Regions from separate parts of the Homo sapiens genome. Here regions 1, 3 and 4 are each linked to region 2. Evidence: promoter capture Hi-C in 16 types of primary human blood cells and fetal thymus (Javierre and others, 2016). All regions are on one chromosome and are shown on one strand. Each heading gives the region's core, a stretch centred on a gene start or on the middle of the fragment in contact. The rest is flanking DNA. Distances are from core to core; before and after follow the strand shown.

Region 1 (3,260 bases), core at 1-2,500, 7.6 Mb after region 2:
TAAAGAAGGAGCGGGTCTCCCTCTTTATAAAAGAGCTGGTGCTGTGACTCAGAATAACACCAACAGTTCGGAGATAACAGGGTTTCTAGCGCAGAATCAAGCAGTGCGTGTGGAGCGTTATTCCAATGTTTCTGCGTCTTTTTTCTGCCTGTGACTTAGGCTCAGCCCTGGCCTTGCCTCTTCACTGGTCAAGGGCTCCGTGCTCCAACACATGAGAAACCTGAACTTTTTTTTTTTTTTTTTTTGAGACAGAGTCTCGCTCTGTCGTCCAGGCTGGAGTGCAGTGGCGCGATCTCGGCTCACTGCAAGCTCCGCCTCCCGGGTTCACGCCATTCTCCTGCCTCAGCCTCCCGAGTAGCTGGAACTACAGACGCCCGCCACCGCGCCCCGCTAATTTTTTGTATTTTTAGTACAGACGGGGTTTCACCGTGTTAGCCAGGATGGTCTCGATCTCCTGACCTTGTGATCCGCCCGCCTCGTCCTCCCAAAGTGCTGGGATTACAGGCGTGAGCCACGGCGCTCGGCCGAGAAACCTGAACTTTCTGTGCGCTCATTGTCCGCACCACGTTCTGCTCTGCAGGTCCCGGAGCTGAGGGCTCCTAAGCATCACCTTGTGTTGTAGACTGTGTCGTGCTCAAGGCTGCCATCTCCCTCCTAGGTGGGGTTACCAGATAAAATACAGGATACCACGTTAAATTTGAATGTCTGATAAACACAGCGTGGTTTTTTTGTTTTTTGTTTTTGTTTTTTTGTGGGTTTTTTTTTTTTTAAAGCATGAGTATGCCCCAAATAGAGCATGCAATTAGTTGTTGCCAGAACCTGGAGGGAGCTGGGAAGGCTTTACAGATAGATAGTGGTGATGGTTGCACAGTATGTATGTAATTAATGCCACTCACTATTGTAAACTTAAAATGATTAAAATGGCAACTTTTTATTTTACCACAGTTTATAAAAACTAATGTAATAAACCAGAAACCTGTAACTGGATGAGTCGTATGGTATGTGGCTATCTTAATAAGGCTGTTAAAAACATGATTAGTTTTTTAATCTGAAATTCAAATTAAGTAGACGTCTTGCATACTTGATAAACCTGGCGCCCCGCTGTGGAACCTAGCGCTCCTCTCCACCGACTGGGCGCCGAGGGCACGAGAGCGGCGTTTTCTCCGCCTCGCCACGCGGGGGCGCTGCGGCCAGCGGGCGCGACCTCTCTGGCGGCGGGGCCGGGTCGCGCGGGCGCGCTTCCGCCTGTGTGGAGGTGCGGGATTGGGCGGGCTGCCACGGCATGGAGAATGGCTCCGCTTCTGTTGCAGCTGGCGGTGCTCGGCGCGGCGCTGGCGGCCGCAGCCCTCGTACTGGTGAGAACAGGGATGGGAACCCGCGCAGGCCGGGGCTTACCGCTCTCCTGGAGACTGCGGCTCCTCAGGCGTCCCCTCCTCCGCGCTACCAGTTCTCGGAGAAGTCCCTTTTCCCCTAGATTCCCCCAAATTCCTGACCTCGGAGTTTCCTGGAGTTTCACTCTCCTTTTCTTCGGTTCTTTAATTTTCCCTTGGAATCTTATCTCTTTGTGTGCTCAGAGACTTGTAAGTTTTTTCACACTGGAGCGCACCCACCCGGCCTGGCATCATCGCCGCTTCCATCGCCCCTGGCGCCCGCGCCCCCTACCCACCTCCTCTGTCAACCTCGACCTCTCCCAGACTCTCCGGGACCTGCAGCCGCTGCAGTTCTGCTCCACCCAGGGAGGTCTCGAGCCCCCAGAAGGGGTGTGCTCCCTAGCCTGCTCCCTTGGCTGATGTGGTTAAGCAAATAGGGGTGACGGAGCCTTGACGGCAGCCATCTGTTACAAATGGGAATAAATGCGTGGATCGATGAGACCCACTAGGGACGCAGGGTGAGCGAGAGAGACAGGCCTCAGGCGCCTTGTCCGGGGTCGCATTGTGTCCCAGAATTAAGCACCCTAAATATACTGCCCCTAAACAAGGCAGGACGATAGAATGCAAACTCGATTGTCTTTGCCCTTGCTCTCGAAACACAAAAACATTGTAAACACTTGCTGATTGTTAAGTGGTAGAAAATTGGCGAACTCTCTCCCGCACACCTTGGAATGAGCCTGCCCTCTAGTTAGTAAGTGGAGAGGATTTCAGCTTCCTTGACATTCAGATTAGCCACCTAGACAGCACTGCCAGGAAGGCCACTCTGCCATCTTTCCAGAGGTTGTATAAATTTACAGTTTAGATAAAATGTAATGCATCCTTACTTCTTTGTTGATAGTATCTGGGTGAGAGAGGAGTCCTCTCTTGCCCTAACTAGTAGAGATTTCAGGGTTTAGGGCTTTTTTGTTTTTTCAAGTTTTTGAGCAAACCAGGATTGATTGATTGATTGATTGATTTTTGGCGGGGTGCGGGCGGGGAGTGGATTCACACATTCTTAGATTGAAGCTGCCTTACTTTGGGTCTTTTGCACAGATTTTATGGGATTGTACTGACGGTATTTGTTCCCACTAGCTTGAAGTGATAAGAGCTACCATTTATTGATTGTAGTACTTACTATATGTTGTGTTGCACTTGGTTTAATAGGAGTTATTAAATCTTTAACACTGTGACATATATGTTATCATTAGCATTATTTTACTGGTGAGGAAACATGTTGGAGAAATGAGCTCGTGTACTCAAATGTTGCACAACTAGTGAAACTTAGGTTTTTTAAATGCCAGAGCAAGAAATCATTAAAAAAATAATTTTTCAAAACCTCATCCTGTCTTCATATGTATCCACTCTCCATTACTCACAGTCTCACCTCCTTTCTGAATTATTTTAAAACAACTCGAAGACATTTTATCTTTAAATCCTCAGCATTTATTTCTAACAGATAAGGTCCTTCTTTTTAAAATACCACAATAAAGTGGTCACAGATTTAAATTTATTCTGTGATTTCAAATGCCCCCTCAGTTCACTTGCCCTCACTTGTCTCATATATGTCTCAGTATATATGTCTGTTTGTTCCAATCAGGATCCAAACAAGTGCCACACATTGTACTCTGTTGATGTCTTGAGTCTCTTAATCAGTTGACAGTTTCTCCTCCCCCTTTTTTTCTTTTCCTTGTCTTTTTTTTTTTTTTTTTTTTTTGAGACGGAGTCTGGCTCTTGTCACCCAGGCTGGAGTGCAGTGGTGTGATCTTGGCTCACTGCAACCTCTGCCCTCAAGCAATTCTCCTGCCTCAGCCTCCTGAGTAGCTGGGATTACAGGCGCCTACCACCACTCCC
Region 2 (3,215 bases), core at 561-3,060:
CCTGCCCGTGGAAGGGCGAGGGGACCGCATGGCAGCAACTGCACTGCACAAAAGACAACACCTATCACCGGGAGCCACCGGCCTTCCATAGACCCCACAGCTCCCGGCCCTAGGGCATCCCCCGAGGAGGCAAGGGCCGGGGGCGAGCCCAGGTGCGGCGAGGGGGAGGAGGTTTCCGCCACGCGCCAGGGAAGAAAGCCTGACTCATGTCGTGGCAGCGGCAGCAGCCGCGGCGGCGGGCTCCTGGGAACTGAAACTCGTGATGCTGTTGCTGCGGAGAAAAGCCTCATTACCCATTCCGCAGGCGGGGGACACCACCCAAGGCGCGCACACCAAGCGCCGGCGCTCCCGCCGCCTCCGCCGGCCCTTCCGCGCCGCGCCCCCTCCTCTGCCGCGTGCCCGCGCGCGCCGGCCGCGAGTGTGAAAAGAGCGGACACACCTAACCTGGGCGCGCGGCAGGCGCGCACCCTGCCCGCCCCCACCGGGCCGAATCACGCAGTCCGACCCGGATTCGCTCCTTCGGCCGGAATTCCCCACCCCCACTATCCCCTCCGGCTCCACCACTCCCGGCTTCGGCGCCTCTGCCAGCCTTCGGTAATTTCCGTCGGGAGACCTGGCGCTCGCCTAGGCCCGAAGACCCGCCGCCTCCTGCCCCGCCAGACCCGGCTTTATGTCTGCGGCGCCGAGGCGCATGCGCAGACGCCATCTTCCCTCCTCCTCCTCCGCCTGCCCCCTCCCCCCAGCCACCACCGCCTCCTCTCGCCGGCGGTCGCCCCTCCTCCTCCTGCGCTCCGCGCTGGTCCCTCCCCTCCCGATGCCGCGAGAGACTGGGGGATACGGTGGAGCCGGGGGAGCCGAAGAAGAGCACTAGTAACAACCACCACAGCCCCCTCCCCGCCCGACACCCTCCCTCGGCACCCACTCACTCCCCCGCCCCGTTTGCCGACACCGACCAACCCCACCTCGTTCCTTTGAACGGCGTCGGCTGCAGTCGCTGCACCAGCCCGTCTGGCCACCAACGCCGCGGAGAAAGGAGCCGCCGCCGCCTGCGGCCCTCTCCCGCCCGGTCGCGGGAGCAGCGGGGTGAGGAAGAGCCGGCTGCGGAGGAAGAGGATAAGAGAGGGTCGCACCCTCCGCCCTAGCGCACGTCCCGCCGCCCTCCGGAGAGGCTCGGGTGCCGGCCCCTTCCTCCCCGAGGACGTGTGCCGAGTCGAGGCGCCTGCCCTGAGGGAGGAAAATGCTCGGGCTCCATGGCTGCCAGTGATGGAGCGGTCCCTGGGCTCCCGCTGCCACCGCCGCCGCCGCGCCCCGGCCGTGCTCCGCGAGGACCCGGCGTCTCTGCGCGCCCGCCCGCGCCTCGTTGCTGGGCTCACCGTACCGGGCGCCTCGCCGCCGCCCCGCTCGCAGCCGCGTCGCCCCGGCCCCAGCCGCGGCCAGCGTTTCCTCACCGAGCAGCCGCCGCGAGCCCAGGGGGTTTGAAAGGGTCTGCGGGGCGCGGGGGGAGGGCCGAGCGGGGCCGGGAGGGGAGGTTTGAGCGACACTGAGCTCGGGGCTCGCTGGCGGCGGCGGCGGCCCCGGGGGTGGCGAGGGGAAGGCGACATTTGCTTGGCGCTGCCTCCGTGCAGAGCGGCCGGGAGGGCTTTGCAGCGGCCGCCGACGCGGCGGGAGGAGGGGGCTGAGGCGGCTTCGGAGTTGGCCGGAGAAGGTGGGCATTTCTCGCTTTTCCTCCCCTTCCTGCGCTCTCCCCCTCCCTCCTGCCCCGCACCCCACGTGAAGCAGAATATAAAGGGGGGTGTGAGGCTAGAGGGGAAAGTGAATGGCGAAGGACTGAAGGGATCCCCCCTTCGGGTCCCCGGCCGCCCTGTTCACCCTCGTTCATCCTCCTTTCCGAAGCTCGCTCTCGAAGGCAGGAGCGACCGGCGCCTTTGGCTGAGGAGGAGGAGAAGGAGGAATCGCGCCAGGCGGAGCGTCAGGTCCCGTTTTCCTCTCCGGCGTCTCCAATACAAAGATTACGGTGCAGAAGGAAATTGCACTCGTCTCCTCCGCGCCCCCGGTACCCAACACAATGCACCAGCCGCCTGAGTCCACCGCCGCGGCCGCCGCCGCTGCAGACATTAGCGCTAGGAAGATGGCGCACCCGGCAATGTTCCCTCGAAGGGGCAGCGGTAGTGGCAGCGCCTCTGCTCTCAATGCAGCAGGTACCGGCGTCGGTAGTAATGCCACATCTTCCGAGGATTTTCCGCCTCCGTCGCTGCTTCAGCCGCCGCCCCCTGCAGCATCTTCTACGTCGGGACCACAGCCTCCGCCTCCACAAAGCCTGAACCTCCTTTCGCAGGCTCAGCTGCAGGCACAGCCTCTTGCGCCAGGCGGAACTCAAATGAAAAAGAAAAGTGGCTTCCAGATAACTAGCGTTACTCCTGCTCAGATCTCCGCTAGTATCAGCTCTAACAACAGTATAGCAGAGGACACTGAGAGCTATGATGATCTGGATGAATCTCACACGGAAGATCTCTCTTCTTCGGAGATCCTTGATGTGTCACTTTCCAGGGCTACTGACTTAGGGGAGCCCGAACGCAGCTCCTCAGAAGAGACCCTAAATAACTTCCAGGAAGCCGAGACACCTGGGGCAGTCTCTCCCAACCAGCCCCACCTTCCTCAGCCTCATTTGCCTCACCTTCCACAACAGAATGTTGTGATCAATGGGAATGCTCATCCACACCACCTCCATCACCACCATCAGATTCATCATGGGCACCACCTCCAACATGGTCACCACCATCCATCTCATGTTGCTGTGGCCAGTGCATCCATTACTGGTGGGCCACCCTCAAGCCCAGTATCTAGAAAACTCTCTACAACTGGAAGCTCTGACAGTATCACACCAGTTGCACCAACTTCTGCTGTATCATCCAGTGGTTCACCTGCATCTGTAATGACTAATATGCGTGCTCCAAGTACTACAGGTGGAATAGGTATAAATTCTGTTACTGGCACTAGTACAGTAAATAATGTTAACATTACTGCTGTGGGTAGTTTTAATCCTAATGTGACAAGCAGCATGCTTGGTAATGTTAATATAAGTACAAGCAATATTCCTAGTGCTGCTGGTGTGAGTGTTGGGCCTGGAGTTACCAGTGGTGTTAATGTGAATATCTTGAGTGGCATGGGCAATGGTACTATTTCTTCCTCTGCTGCTGTTAGCAGTGTTCCTAATG
Region 3 (3,479 bases), core at 355-2,854, 8.2 Mb after region 2:
TGCAAGACTAAAGAAATATTGACATACAATTTCACAATATGGAACGGAAATATGAGTTCAAGAAGAAAAGAAATGATGTAAAATTTCCTTCTGTTAAAAGCTTGTTCATGTAGTTTTAAAAATTGATGATTTTAGATATTAAATTGGTATTTAGATTCCACTGGCTACATTTAAAAGTTATATAACTTTTATTTTAAAATGTTAATTTATAATAAAACAGAAGTTGCTTCTTTTGTAACTATTTAAGTCAGATGAGAAATTGTGATGGTCAATCCAAAAACGTGGAAGTGAGAATACAGTCATAGTCTTTGGGGACTCCTTTGGGGGTATAAGAGCAAAATCATTTTGAAACCACTGTATTAATATATTCCTAATAGGTTTTGCTTTTTGGGATGACTGACTGCTACCTTTCTGAGATTTGAGGGAGTCACTTAACTGGTCCTAAGGCCAGGCGCGGTGACTCACGCCTGTAATCCCAGCACTTTGGGAAACTGAGGCAGGTGGATCGCTTGAGGTCAGGAATTCGAGACCAGCCTGGCTAACTTGAGGTCAAGCTTTCAAGACCAGCTTGGCCAATATGGTGAAACCCCGTCTCTACTAAAAATACAAAAATTAGACGGGAGTGGTGGTGCACAGCTGTAATTCCAGCTTCTCTGGAGGCTGAGGCATGAGAGTCGCTTGAACCTGGGAAGCAGAGGTTGCAGTGAGCCGAGATCATGCCACTGCACTCCAGCCTGGGCAACATAGTAAGACTCTGTCTCAAAACAAAACAAAAACACAACAACAACAAAACTGGTTCTAAATGCTCCGGGCAAGTACATACTGCTTTTTCTTTTTTCTGTTTTTTTTTCCCTAAGGCAGCCCTATTGAAGAGTCTGTCATCTACAATATTTTACTAATTTAAAAACACTTGTCAAGAAGGGTAAAGTATGTTCATCTTGATTTTACTCTTTGTATCCCGGAATCAGGAACTAACAGTTTTATGATAGTGATATAGACTTTACACACACACCAAGACTTAAAACACGTGGTGCAGGCGGGCTTTTGGAAATTAACTGTGCTCTGGATACAGAAGTCACAAAGCTCAGGCTGCAGAGACATTGAGGGGATAATCAGCCTTTATTGTCTCTCGTGCACTGTGCCCAGCGCTCCCTCTAGCGGCTACAAGCGCTCACTGCCCACACTCTCTACTAGGCTCTCCGGAGGCCTCGGTTTCGCTGGAGAGAAAGAGATTGCGCAGGCGCCGAGCAGCCGACGTGGCCGCAGGGGACCGTGCCTGGGGGGGTCTGCGCGGGGCCGCTGACTCGCGAGGTTCTCTGTCGCCTGCCGCCCTCGCTCCTTTTCTCCCCTTCTAGAGTGTTACGGTGACTCTTGGGTCCGAAGGGGACGGACGTCCTCCCACGTACCATTTAGAAGGTCAGAGTGGGCAGAACCTAGTCTGAGCAGGCCGGTGATGAATCCGCTGGCAAGACGCGCGCGTGGGTACTCACGTGACCTAGGCTGCGGCGGCGGCGTGCTGCGGGCTCTGTGGCGGGAGCGAGGCCGACGGGCGGGGCCGCGCGGCCGCGTGACGCGAAGCGTTCGAGAGCGCGCGTCGTGGAACGTCTTGGTTGCCACGGCAAGCGCGCGCGCGAGGCCTTGGGAACCTCGGGACCGGCCCCCGGCGAGCGCAGCGGCGCCCAGTGTAAGGGAGTGGGAGCTGGTCCGTGCCGCGGCGGCCGCGCAGGGAGCTCTCGAGGCAACGCCGGGGCGCCCGAGGTCTGGAAGGCGCAGGTGGGGCGCGGGGGAGTTCACCCCTGCGCGGTCCCTTGGGTGGGCGGGGTGGGCGCCCCAGGCCCCGCGGACTCGGCTGGGAGGCTGAGCGGGCGACGGTCACGGGACAAGGGTGGAGGGGGTGGGGACCTCATCCGAGTCTCAGAGATGGAATTTTCGAGGAAGGGAGCGATTTCGAGAGAGAATAGTTTGAGAAGTTGTTCTCAGTCCCTTCTCTCGCGGGAGTGTGGTATTTAGGGAAGCTTCGGCCTCTTAACCCATGGACTGTTAGGATGGAGGGAATCCTTCCCGCTCGATTCCTATCGCGGAGTCCTTTCGGAGCATCGCTATTGATCATTCTCGCCGCCCCAACCCCGTTGTTTACTTTGGCTTCGCAGATCTCTGTGGTCTTTTGCCCTCCCGCAGCGCCCATGGCCCCGTCAAGGTTGGGCAGCCTTTCTCTGCAAGAAGGCCCACGAACAACTGCGGTTATATTGGGATGGATTGCGCGTGATTTTACTCTTTACAATACATTCTTTCATGCTTCCTAGGGATTGAGCTGCGCGGCGGATCCCTCCGACTTAATTCTGGGCCTGAGAAAAGTTTCTCTTGGAATGCGCAGTTTCGTGACGCAGCATTATTGCGTGACTCTAGGGCTGACCCAGTTTTTCACTTTCTAATTGTAAGGAAGTGCGCTAGTAGTCCACCGAGGATCCTCGAGGTTGGCCTTATTGTATCATAATTTAACGAATTTGCGTTCCAGGTTGTTACAGCCTTTGAAATAATGGCCTCATATTTAAGAATGTAGCAATTTTTCTTTGAAATTTCCGAAAGTGGGGAAAAAAGTAATAGAAGACTGCACCTATATGGAATTATTTTCTGATTCGCAGTTCTTTATAATCGTAGACTTAATTTGGTGGCTTTATTGGACCTGTTTGAAACAGGAAGCCTTTCTGTAATGTGGTTTCGGGTCGGCTTCACCTCTGGCACTCTCTGAAACGTCGTTGTCTATGGTTTCCCTAAGAAGCTAGAATGAGCGGGATGCTACGGAGGGAGGTGTATACAGGTGTTAGACAAAGCCCCCTCCGCTTTTTTGGTAAAGGGCCAAATAGGCATTAGATCAACTTGTGCTAGCTCTAAGGAGTTAAATGCGGTATTATTAAAGACTGCTTGTAATGTTGACTGTTAAGTGAGAGTGTTACTTCTTTCAGTGTTTATGGAATCGAACTAAATTGCTAGGTATTTTAATGCAGAATTTTACCTTTTCTCGGGTATTTTTTAAGACATACACAGACATACATGTAGTTATGTTGAAATAAATGTGTTTTATTAGAACGTTAAAAAATTAGAATTTAGGTGAACTACTGGTATCGGAACAGATTTTGGTTTGTTGTTGAAGACTGTACACTGGTGTAGGTACTGTTTAATACATCAGATTGTCATTTCAAAGACTTTGTCTTCTTAACTTTGAAAATTAAATAATGTGAAATAATGTGATAATGGTTTTTATCTTTTCAGGACACTTGATTGACACTTAATTGTGCTTAGGAATAGAATAGGCTTTTTTTTAAGTCACCATCCTCCAATCCTTATTTCTGTAAAATGTATTTTCTGAGACCGCTGAGGATATAGCAAATCCCAGTCACAAAATAAAAATGTGATATTTTAATATAAACCTTTTTCTTTCTGTGTTGAGATTCCCCAGAGATTAGACTGAAATTGACCAT
Region 4 (3,224 bases), core at 708-3,207, 7.5 Mb after region 2:
ATATATGTAACCCCAAACCCCAATGTCACTGTATTGGAGATAAGATCTATAAGGAGGTAATTAAGGTTTAAGAAGATCATAAAGGTGGGGCCCTTATCCAATAGAATTAGTTACTCATAAGAAGAGACATGAAAGCTAGTGTGCTTGCACAATGGATTCTTGGTGATGACACCAAAAGCACAAGTAACAAAATAGATAAATTAGATTTCATCAAAATTAAAAAGGTTTGTACACTGAAGGATATTACAAAGAAAGTGAAAAGACAACCTACAGAATGGGAGAAAGTATCCACCAATGATATATCTCATAAGGGTCTAATATCCAGAATATATGACTACACATAACTAACAACAAAAACACAAACAACTCAATTTAAAAATGGGGAAATACCTGAATAGAGAGTTCTCCAAAGAAGATATACAAATGGCTAACAAGGGCATGAAAAGATGCTCAAGATAACTAGCCATTAGGGAATGCAAATCAAACCCACAATAAAATACCACTTTATACCCTTTGGGATGGTTACTATCAAAGGAATAGAAAATTATGGTGTTAGTGAGGATGTGGAGAAATTGGAATCCCCCGACAATGCTCTTGGTATGTAAAATGAATGGTTCAGCTGCTGTAGAAACATTTGTTTATGGGTTCCTCAAATATTTTCACGTAGAATTACTATAAGACCCAGAAGTTCCACTATGTTTATACCCAAAAGAATTGAAAACAGGGACTCGAACAAATACTTGTATACAAATGTTCATATCATTGCTATTCACAATAGCCCGAAAGTGGAAACAACCCAAATGTCCATCAGTGGATGGACAGGTAAAACTGTGGCATCTAGGTACAGTGGAATAGTAGCCATAAAGAGACATGAAGTACCGATACATGCAACAAGGTGTACAAGGTGAACCTGCAAAAGATTATGCTACGAAGACAGACCAAAAGGTCACACATTCCATTTATATGAAATATCCGTAATAGGTACCACAGTTTGAAAGCTGATTGGCATTTGCCAGGGGCTGAGAGAGGGAGGAATGGGAGTAACCACTTAATGTGTTCGGATTTTATTTTGGAGTGTACTTTAATACACTTATAATGTGTGCAACCACTAACTCTAATTCCAAGACACTTTCATTCATTATGACCCTTGGCATTGTGAACGGCAAATAATAAATGCTCATTAAAAAGATTCACCCCAGGCCGTGCATGATGGCTCACGCCTGTAATCCCAGCACTTTGGGAGGCCAAGGCGGGTGGATCACTTGAGATGAGGAGTTCAAGAGCAGCCTGCCCAACATAGTGAAACAGTCTCTACTAAAAATACAAAAATTAGCCGGGTGTGGTGGTGCACGCCTATAATCCCAGCTACTCCGGAGACTGAGGCAGGGAGAATCGCTTGAACCCAGGAGGCAAAGGTTGCAGTTAGCTGAGATTTCTCCACTCCACTCCAGCCTGGGCGACAGAGCGAGACTCTGTCTGAAAAACAAACGAACAAACAAAACAAAACAGACCTTACAATGTGTGCTAGTAATGCGGTTTCTGAATTTTTAGAACCCTTCTCTGGGGTGGTTTTTTTAAAAACATAAACTCATTGGCAGTTGATATACTACAGAAGGTTGTACGCATTGGACTAGTAAATGTAGGTAACGGTGTCGCTGTTTTTCCATTTGTATGTGCTAAGCAAAGAGAAAAGCTAGTTCTATGTTTCTTCCACTCTAGAAATTCAACAGGGTCGTTTTTCCCCAAATTCACATCTACACCCTCCCTCCCACTTTGCGGACTCGGACTCCAGGATTGAGCAGAGATCCTGGGCCCCGCCTCCCGCCCGGACGCAAGTCTCTGCGGGCCTCACCGGCGTCCTGCGCGGAACGCAGCGCTCCAGGCTCCTGGCAGCGGCCCCGCCCTCCCGGCTCCTCCCCTTCCGCCCGCCTTCCCCGCCCCTCGGCCCAGCCTGCCAATCGGAAGTGCGGCCGCCGGAACTGGCTGTTGGTGGGGGTGCAGCACTGAGCCGCCGACGGGGCGGGTGGGCTTTGCTGCCGAGCAGGCGGCGCCGTCTTGGGGCCTAGCGGCGAGGCGACCCGCACAGGTGGGCGGTGGCGGTAGGTGGGTGGCCAGCGACTGGCAACGCGGTGGCTTAGACGCGCGAGATCCGGCCAGGGTCAGAGGTGAGCGGGCCGCATCCCAGAGCCCGCTGGAGGAAGACGGGGTCCCCAGAGACCCGGCAGGCCGGGGCGGAGGTTGAGGCAGCTAAACTCCAGGTGGACGCCTACATCGCCTTTCGCGGTGTTGCTAAGCCGAACTTTTAATTTTAGTTTGACTTTTGGGTTCCAGAGACGGGTATTTCCGGACACTGGCAAGAATTTTGCCTTGCGTGTCTTCGAAGGCGGTTTTCTTGGTGTCCATATTGCATAAAGGCTTGTCGCTCCTCTGTGGAGATGACGGTTGTACAGGTAAAGCCTAAGTTGTGACAAAAGCTCCTGCAATGGGAAGACTCTGGTCGATCAGGGAAATCAGTAGAATTGATAGCAACGCGTAGAATTGATAGCAACGCTTAGAATTGGATTAATTACTGGCCATGGTTACCCGGCGCTCAGAAATGAACTTGGAGAACAGTTGCCCTGGAAGCCATCTCCCGTAGCCACTGCGTAGTGGGGGCCGCGTCTTCTTGAGTGCAATTCATCAAAGTCTCTAGTAGGACTCAAAATATAAAGTGACGAGCAGGATTTTCGGAGTCGAGTACAGTGTACTTGGGTTGATCACCATGTTATAAAGTTAGATCCAAATTAAGAAATACATATTCGTCTCTGAGCAGAATTGGGTCCTTTTTTTAATTGCTTTGCTTTTTTTAAAGAAATGTAAAAACAGATGCCGGTTTGATTAGTTTGCAGGTTGTAATATTGGAAGGGACCTAAGATTGGACACAGAGTTCTGAATTCTGATCTAGGTCTGTGATGTTAGGAAAGTCAGTTGTTCTGATTGCCTTATTCTGTAAAACGGAAATGATAATGATTACAGTTTCCTCACAGGTTCTAGTAAATTCTGTGTATAGACAGAATGTTTGCTTTGTGAGAGATATGAAGTTATTAGTTTTTGTCTGAAGTACTTAAATAATTTAAAGTTAGTAAGCCCCCATCCCCAATTTAGTGACAAGAAATCTTAAAGTCATCACATTTTGTCCGAAAAGTACATAGTGTATCTTCATCTTCAAATTCAGTGGTCAGAAA

Evidence for each region. Contacts are between HindIII fragments. The CHiCAGO score rates a contact against its expected background, and 5 or more counts as called.
Region 1: a contact is called between the fragment with the promoter of ALG5 here and the fragment with the promoter of TSC22D1 in region 2, in 2 of 17 cell types (total CD4 T cells and total CD8 T cells). The highest score is 5.5, in total CD4 T cells.
Region 3: a contact is called between the fragment with the promoter of SPART here and the fragment with the promoter of TSC22D1 in region 2, in 2 of 17 cell types (naive B cells and activated CD4 T cells). The highest score is 10.5, in naive B cells.
Region 4: a contact is called between the fragment with the promoter of SUPT20H here and the fragment with the promoter of TSC22D1 in region 2, in 1 of 17 cell types (total CD8 T cells). The highest score is 5.2, in total CD8 T cells.

The regions. Positions count from the first base shown.
Region 1 is chr13:36,997,330-37,000,589 of GRCh38, reverse strand. It overlaps ALG5 (ALG5 dolichyl-phosphate beta-glucosyltransferase), which reads left to right and starts at 1,250. Exons shown (of 10, transcript NM_013338.5): 1 at 1,250-1,355. The coding sequence starts at 1,290. RefSeq lists enhancers at 1-64, 525-574 and a silencer at 1,035-1,334. The HindIII fragment of the contact is 11,758 bases long and covers 1-3,260 here.
Region 2 is chr13:44,574,925-44,578,139 of GRCh38, reverse strand. TSC22D1 (TSC22 domain family member 1) reads left to right here and starts at 1,810. Exons shown (of 3, transcript NM_183422.4): 1 at 1,810-3,215. The coding sequence starts at 2,066. It overlaps TSC22D1-AS1 (TSC22D1 antisense RNA 1), which reads right to left and starts at 2,244. Exons shown (of 3, transcript NR_038381.1): 1 at 1,870-2,244; 2 at 963-1,098; 3 at 1-38. RefSeq lists silencers at 118-167, 348-547, 818-1,057, 1,068-1,777 and an enhancer at 2,098-2,337. The HindIII fragment of the contact is 6,017 bases long and covers 1-3,215 here.
Region 3 is chr13:36,344,519-36,347,997 of GRCh38, reverse strand. SPART (spartin) reads left to right here and starts at 1,604. Exons shown (of 9, transcript NM_015087.5): 1 at 1,604-1,773. SPART-AS1 (SPART antisense RNA 1) reads right to left here and starts at 1,567. Exons shown (of 5, transcript NR_045181.1): 1 at 1,491-1,567. RefSeq lists a silencer at 1,706-1,755. The HindIII fragment of the contact is 1,461 bases long and covers 557-2,017 here.
Region 4 is chr13:37,058,421-37,061,644 of GRCh38, reverse strand. It overlaps SUPT20H (SPT20 homolog, SAGA complex component), which reads left to right and starts at 1,957. Exons shown (of 26, transcript NM_001014286.3): 1 at 1,957-2,086. RefSeq lists a silencer at 1,786-2,045. The HindIII fragment of the contact is 8,647 bases long and covers 1-3,224 here.